Linked DNA regions of Homo sapiens: region 1 is linked to region 2. Evidence: promoter capture Hi-C in human tissues and cell types (Jung and others, 2019). All regions are on one chromosome and are shown on one strand. The core of a region is centred on a gene start or on the middle of the fragment in contact, and the rest is flanking DNA. Distances in the headings are between cores, read along the strand shown.

Evidence for each region. The method cuts DNA at HindIII sites, captures the fragments that hold promoters and counts their contacts. A contact is called where the count stands out against the background at its distance.
Region 1: a contact is called between a fragment that was not itself captured here and the fragment with the promoter of RS1 in region 2, in 1 of the 25 tissues and cell types used here (pancreas).

What each region holds. Positions count from the first base shown.
Region 1 is chrX:19,000,326-19,004,465 of GRCh38, reverse strand. ADGRG2 (adhesion G protein-coupled receptor G2) reads left to right here. Exons shown (of 29, transcript NM_001079858.3): 24 at 1,352-1,620. The region is part of intron 2 of LOC101928415 (a long non-coding RNA gene); the gene reads right to left. Among named protein-coding and RNA genes, the nearest start is that of PHKA2, 18 kb to the right of the region's middle. The HindIII fragment of the contact is 4,254 bases long and covers 1-3,553 here.
Region 2 is chrX:18,669,790-18,673,831 of GRCh38, reverse strand. It overlaps RS1 (retinoschisin 1), which reads left to right and starts at 1,724. Exons shown (of 6, transcript NM_000330.4): 1 at 1,724-1,815. The coding sequence starts at 1,764. The HindIII fragment of the contact is 16,600 bases long and covers 1-4,042 here.

The sequences.
Region 1 (4,140 bases), core at 177-2,676, 330 kb before region 2:
CAGAGACTTACCATCTGAAATAGACCACAGCACCATGTACAGCATAAGAACTATGTTTAATAAATTACATTTCTAAATTATACTGAGCAAACACAAAAGATTAAATACATTAACTGGTGTGGGGATGGAGAGAAATAAGGATGTAAAAGCTTTACTGAAAAAAATAGATATTCAGTGAGTGTAGCTCTGCAGCAAGAATGCCATTCTAAAAAACAGCCTTTCCTTCTTGGCTTACCAGACAGGTCCCTTTGGTTGCTTTTTGGGGGTAATTCCAACAAATTCTAATGGAAAAGAAGGACATGGGCATTTTTATTGCATTAACGAATCGAAACAATATGTAGGTTCTTGGATTTAGATTTTGGACACTGATCAGGAAATGTAAAAATTTATTTTCAGTGCCAAAGTTAGGGTCTAGCTGTGACTACGGATCTTCTAGTGAGCCTTTGGAAATATTATTAGTGAGACTAAATAACCAGAAGGCCAGCCATTACTCAGAATGATTTCATCGGATCTAATTTTGCATGCATAAACATGAACATGTCATCAATTAGCTGGCTTCTCCTATGCTATTACATTTAGCTGTAGTTTAAACTCTTCTTTCCATGATCTCATTTTACCTAATAACATACAATAATATGGGAATCTTGGTTAAATTTTGAAGATCTGAATATAGCAGACTCCATGAGAAGCAGCACCAATGCTTCCGAAAGTAGTCTGGGAGAAATAGGGCGAGTGCTTAGTAGAGTCTACTACAAACTATTTAAAAGTATGCGTCAACAGTCAGCATGTAAAAGGTCCCACAGAAATACAGACACAAATTCTCCTTATGGTTATCACAGATGATTCTGTTTAGATTTTTCCTTTGTTGTTGTTGGTTTTAAGCTCCCCCCCACCCCATATACACATATACTCAAACAGAGGAAATTTATGCATATAGACATTTACCAAAGAATAAAAATAAATTGCTTAAAACTCAAAGAGCCTGACAGATATGCTTACATAAGGGTTGGTGCTAGGTGTGGTAACTCATGCCTGTAATCCCAACACTTTGGGAAGCCAGGGCAGCAGGATTGCTTGAGCCCAGGAGTTTGAGGCCAGCCTAGGCAACATGGCGAAACCGTGTCTCTACAAAAAAAATAAGGGTGTGGTAGAGAGCGCCTGTAGTCCCAGCCACTCAGGAGACTGAGGTGGGAAGATCGCTTGAGCCCAGGAGGCAGAGGTTGCAGTGACCTGAGATCACGCTACTGCACTCCAGCCTGGGTGACAGAGCCAGACCTTATCTTAAACCAAAAAAAAGTTGGAGGGTTGGCAGAGTAGAATGCTCATTCTTGTTCTCATCCTTTCCTTTTAGAAAGATCCGGAGGGATTACCCTTCCAAAATCCTCATCCAGCTGTGTGCTGCTCTGCTTCTGCTGAACCTGGTCTTCCTCCTGGACTCGTGGATTGCTCTGTATAAGATGCAAGGCCTCTGCATCTCAGTGGCTGTATTTCTTCATTATTTTCTCTTGGTCTCATTCACATGGATGGGCCTAGAAGCATTCCATATGTACCTGGCCCTTGTCAAAGTATTTAATACTTACATCCGAAAATACATCCTTAAATTCTGCATTGTCGGTTGGGGTATGTATAAGCTTGCCTGCATGTTGCCTGGACTTTCTCTGCCTTTTCTCTAGTGTTTTGATTTTTGAGCAGGTGGAAACGATGAAGCAGATCACATTCAGCAAGTTTCTAAAACAGCTTTATACTCTTACATGTGCACTGCCCGAAGAGCAACTTTGTCAAGTCTCCTTCTAGGACACCTGTTTATTTCTTTGGATTTGTTATGAATATGGAATTCCTCAAGGTTGAACCATGAATCCTCTTTGTATCTCCAGGAACTAGAATTTGGGGCTGGCACAGAAGGTGCTCAATATATTGAAAACATTAGCTTGGGGTGGTAATATATTGAAAACATTAGCTTGGTGGTAAAGAGCCCAAACTCTCAGTCCCTGAGCTCCCAGCCAGCCTCATTCTACTTTGTACCTCCCAGATATCAGACACGTATGACAGTATGCTAAGAAGGGCAGAGTGAGAGAATGTACATATAAAACCCATTGTAACTTCACTGCCACGTGGGCATGACATTTCAGATTGTGCAGCCTATTGGTGGCAGGTCGCAAGGCCTTAGGCTCCCCAAATATGTTGAAGATTTCTTCATTCAATTTCCCACCCAATGCAGGAGCCTCTTCAACCCTCAACTCCACCTGACTTATCCTTGACTAAAGATAATCTAACTTCTGCTTGAATACTTCTATTACTGGGGAGTTCATGACCTTACAAGGCAGCCAATAACCATTTTATAAAGCTCTACAGTTCTGATTTTCCATTAAGTTCAGTTGGCTCCCTGGTGGCACTTACCAGTGGTTTTGCTCAGGCAGAAAACAGTAAGTTGATACCTCTTCTGCCAGAGAGTCCTTTAGATAATCTACAAGTAATATATAACAGTGTGTATAATCCCCTGTTTTTCACACAAGTGACCCCATGCAAGATAAGCCAGTGAGGTGAGCCAGGCAGTCATCCCAAATGTAGGTGAAGAAACTGGCTCCAAGTGATGATGTGATATCCCCCCAATTCACAAAGCTAGAAAACAGCAAGCCTGGCTCTCCGTCTCCTTATATGCAGCCTTCTGCCATCCCCCCAACCAGACTGCCTCTATTTTCAGGCTAAATATTCCTACACATCAAGATTGAAAGCACACCACCACCCTTGCCACCCTGCCTTCTATCTTATGTCACTATGTCTTTGTGAAGAACAACAGAACAACACCCTTTCCCTGTTTGTCCCAGAAACATAAGTCAACGCTCCAGATACTGGGCACGGATTCTGTCTTCTTTAGAGAAGGCTGAAAGTCAGATTCCTTTCTTAAGTATGAGGCCCCCACCCCCAATGTTTTATTTTTAACAAAGTGTCTCACTTAGAAAATTATCATATGTCAGGGTCACCAGAAGGTACAAGCGCAAAGGCATTAAATGAACTATTAGATTTGATTTTACCAGGCACTGCAACTGGTCTGTGACAAGGAATTGTTTGTTCTTTACCAGAGCCTTGAGATAGGACGTCTGCTGGTCAGTGTGCAGAGTGTGGGGCGGTGGCATGGGGCTGGCGGGTGATGGTGTGCAGTGGTGAATAGGATTCTTTCCCCACCAAAAGCCATTTTAAACTTGGGGGACCCTTCTCATGGTACCTTCTCTGAAGGGAAGTGTCCGTGGGCTCTCAACAGAGCCAGCATAGTAGCAGTCACCACCCCCTGGATCAGCCAGGACAGAACCCTCCATCCTTCACTGGGTCTCAAAGTCTTCAAATTGAGGACTTTTGGTTTCATAATGAAAGATTTGCCAGGAGTTGCTGACTCTTAAATATACATTCCAGACATGTATAAGTTAAAGGCACAACGCTGGGTGCAGTGGCTCATGCCTGTAATCCCAGCACTTTGGGAGGCCGAGGTGGGCGGATCACCTGAGGTCAGGAGTTCGAGACCAGCCTAGCCAACATGGTGAAACCCCGTCTCTACTAAAAATACAAAAATTAGCCAGGTGTGGTGGTGCACACCTGTAATCCCAGCTACTTGGGAGGCTGAGGCACAAGAATCGCTTGAACCCGGGAGGCGGAGGCGGAGGTTGCAGTGAGCCGAGATTGTGCCACTGCACTCTAGCCTGGGTGACAGAGGGGGGCCGGGTGGGGGGTGGGGAGTTAAAGGCAACACTGGCAGCTGTAACAGATTCACCTTGAAATCTCAGTAGAAGATCATTTCTCACTCACCTACAGTCTAGTTAGCAGGGGCAGAGGAGTCCCTGGTCTTGCAGTTATTCAGGGATCCAAGCTATTGAAGACTCTGCCTCAAGGTTGCCCTAAGTTTGCAGGCAAAAAGAAAGTAGAGGATCTCACAGGAGGTTTCTATGGGGCAGGCCTGGAAGTGGAGCAAATCACTTGTGCCCGTATCCCATGGGCCCAAAGTGAGCCATGTGGCCACACACACCCAGCTGCCTGGGAGGCTGGGAGCATCCAGTCATGTGCCAAAGAGGAAAAGAAACCAGCCTGGTGAACAGCTAGCCAGTCTCTGCTACAAGATGTAAATAGGATGTGATCTCTAGTCTTGTCACC
Region 2 (4,042 bases), core at 475-2,974:
GCCACCTCGCCCGGCTAATTTTTTGTATTTTTAGTTGAGACGGGGTTTCACCGTGTTAGCCAGGATGGTCTCGATCTCCTGACCTCGTGATCCGCCCGCCTCGGCCTCCCAAAGTGCTAGGATTACAGGCTTGAGCCACCGTGCCCGGCCTTTTTTAAAACCACCTTAACCATTTTTTTTTTTTTTTGAGACAGAGTCTGGCTCTGTCACCCAGGCTGGAGTGCAGTGGTACAATCTCGGCTCACTGAAACCTCGGCCTCCTGGGTTCAAGCGATTCTCCTGCCTCAGCCTCCCGAGTAGCTGAGATTATAGGTGCACGCCACCACGCCCGACTAATTTTTGTATTTTTGGTAGAGACGAGGTTTCGCCATGTTGCCCAGGCTGGTCTCGAACTCCTGACCTCAAGTGATCTGCCTGCCTTGGCCTCCCAAAGTGCTGGGATTACAGGTGTGAGCCACCACCTCCAGCCCACCATAATCATTTTTAAGTGTACAGTTCAGTAGTGTTAAGTATATTCACATTGTTGTGAAACAGATCTCGGGAACTTTTTCATCTTGCAAAACTCAACTCTATACCTATTAAACAACTCCCCTTTTCCTCCCATCAACTTTATTCTGAATGGTGATGTAAAAATAATAGCTAATTATGTCTAGCACTGTGCTAAGTATTTTATACATATGATCTCTTGTAAGCCTCAAAATAACTCTCGAAAGTAGGCATTATTATCATCATCTTACAGATGAGAAAGTTTAGGCGCAGAGATATTAATAACTTGCCCTGAGGTCACAATGTAACAAGTGCTAGTGCTGCGATTTGGCACCCAGTCTGGGTTGGCAGTCTGTGCTCTTAAACCTACCAGGCTGCACTCATCTCTTGATTTACTTAACCAGCCCCCTAACCTTGGCCATTTAGATTGTTTCCAATTTGTTGTTGTTAAAAGTAACACAGCAATGCACAGCTTTGTGTTAACTGTCCTCCCACCACCACCAAATTTAGCATTTTCCTGAGTGAATAGGTGTGCACATGATGCCTAGTTGCTTTCAAAGAGGGGAATCCATGACATTTTCATACAATTCGAGAATGTTAGTGCTTATGTGGCAGGAAATTGTTCAAGGTCACCCCCTAAAAAATGATGGCGAAGAAAGGACGAAAACCTGAGACTTCTGGTTGTAGTTCTCTCCCTCCATTGCTTCCCTTACATTAAGATAGAATGAACAGTATGGGCCGGGCGCAGTGGCTGACGCCTGTAATCCCAGCACTTTGGGAGGCCGAGGTGGGTGGATCACCTGAGGTCAGGAGTCCGAGACCAGCCTGACTGACATGACGAAACCCCATCTCTACTAAAAATACAAAAATTAGCTGGGCGTGGTGGCGTGAGCCTATAATCCCAGCTACTCGGAAGGCTGAGGCAGGAGACTAGATTGAACCCGGGAGGCAGAGGTTGCAGTGAGCCGAGATGGCGCCATTGCACTCCAGCCTGGGTGACAAGAGCGAAACTCCATCTCAAAAAAAAAAAAAAAAAAAAAAAAAAGAACGAAAAGTATCTTCCTCGCGAACTGAATCTCAGTTGATGCTAGTATCTTCCATGAGACTTCCTTGTTGAGGCAGGTAACTCTGTGGGTTAACTTGATGGGGCTCAGCCAAAGACCTAAGAACTAAATGGATTAAGATGCTTAATGAGGCCAGGGCTCAACTTAATCCCCTGCTCCTGGGCCAGCTCTCCAGTTCAGTAAGGTAGAGCTTTGGCCGAGGACGAGGGGAAGATGTCACGCAAGATAGAAGGCTTTTTGTTATTACTTCTCTTTGGCTATGAAGGTATGTGCTATTCAACCATTGACATTCATTGCATACTTAATACATAATTTAATTAATATCGTTGATAAATAGGAATATAGCCTGAATAATATAAATATTATTAATTAGCAACACGTTAATTAACTAACATGTGTTATTAATGAACAACAGTTGTCTTTGTGTGGATGGCTTTCCAGTTCTGTGAGGAGCCTTCTAAAGTTCAAAGGATGCTTAAAATCCAACAGAAAACAGGATGGGTCTCAGAAATCTATAAAATAGCCATAAGTTGCAACAATTAATGAGAAAGTATGGCATATTCTGGAAAACTTTTAGGAGTCAAAGTGGGAGTGATTGTAGAATTTAATATTCCAAACCGGAATGCTATTGACGGTGGAGGACGATGCTATTAATAATTCTGTTGGGACGACAGGTGTAACCCAGGACCATCCAGGGCAAATTGGGGTGTAAGGTCAACCTAGTTTAAATATGGATTAACGTAACATACCCAGTACCACTGGAATCTAATAAAAAACATAATCCAACTGAGAGTCAGGAAACCTCGGAGACTCAGTACACTCACTCATTTTAAAATTTCTAAATATGACCCTAGCAGAAGTGATATGCTTCAATTAGGAAAAAATAAGGGCAAATCTGTAAAATGTCATCCAGTTCCAATTCCCTCTCAATCTTTGAAATAATATTCTTTCATGCCTCTCTCAATTCTCAAGTACCCATCTGCTCAGAATTTCTCCTCAGGTTCATCCAGATGTTAGAAATTGGTTGCCTGTCTTCTTTGTGGACATCGTGTATTTGTGTGTTATAGAAAATAAATTAAAAAGCAGGGAGAAGGAGGTCTCTGTGCTCTGCAAATGACCTGGTAGACAGACACAGCGAAACTCACACAAGTAGAATCAGAATTCTTGGTTTCACGGCTCACTGTAGCCTCAACCTCCCAGGCTCAAGCCATCCTCCTGCCTCAGCCTCCCTAGTAGCTGGGACTACAGGCACGCACCACCACATCCGGCTAATTTATTGTATTTCTTGTAGAGAGGGGTTTTCACCATGTTTCCCAGGCTGATGACTTTTGTTACTTAGTCACATTTCTCAGTATTTGGAAAGACTGGTGACAATATAATTCCAAGGTCATTCTGCAAACCCCAAGGTATATTTCTAAGTAGGGATCATGTAAACCAGTTGTCTGTTAGGATTTTTTCCCCTTGCAATTAATAGTCTGCAACTTGTCCCAGTAACTCTGACTACTTTAAGATGCTTTGGGGTTTTGTTGTTTTTCCTTTTACTCCTTGCCCCCTCCTCTTTCCTCAGCAAGAAAATCTAAGCAGACTCTTTCAAGGCTTAGATCTAAATACTCCTGGTTGTCAGACACTCCCAGGGCTCACTCTCGGATTTCTCTTCTTTGTGATTGGCATGGAGATTCATTCATTCATTCCTTGGTCCCTTCTTTTAAGAGCTCATCCCTGACTATCTGCTAGGGGGCAAACATTGTGTATGACGGCGGGGCGCGGTGGCTCATGACTGTAATCCCAGCACTTTGGGAGGCTGAGGCGGGTCTATCACCTGAGGTCAGGAGTTTGAGACCAGCCTGCCCAACCTGGTGAAACCCCGTCTCTACAAAAATACAAAAAGTATCTGGGCATGATGGCAGGTGCCTCTAATCCCAGCTACTCGGGGGAGGCTGAAGCGGGAGAATCGTCTGATTGCTGGAGAGGGAGGTTGCAGTGAGCTGAGATCATGCCATTGCACTCCAGCCTGGGTGACTGAGCGAGACTCAGTCTCAAAAAAAAAAAAAAAAAAAAGGACTTGACATGCAGGGCATCCTTGTTTCTTCCACAGTGCTGAGTCTAACAACCCTGTTCTGTGACCTCCCCACCCCCGCGATGCGAAGAAGTCCTAGAAATGTTTACCAAAGCATTTTAAAATTAGACCTGCCCAGTTAGTGGATATCAGCAATAAAAGACAGGCTGTCAGGAGGCATGAAGGATAGCACTCTTTCGTGTTCTAAAGTTTACCAATCTTTGTGCATGGCTGGGGAGCTCCAGAAATGTCCACGAAGAGCAGAGAACATCGTCTCTCCAGGTGCCCTGCAACGTGGGCCAGTGGGAAGGTTTGGGGAGCTTAAATTATCTTACTTGCTTAACGCAGGCCTTTAACAGCACTTGAAAGGAAAGCAGCCAGCCAAAAATAGCCAGTGTGGCTTGGCAACCTACTGTGTGCCCTACCCTGGGCCAGA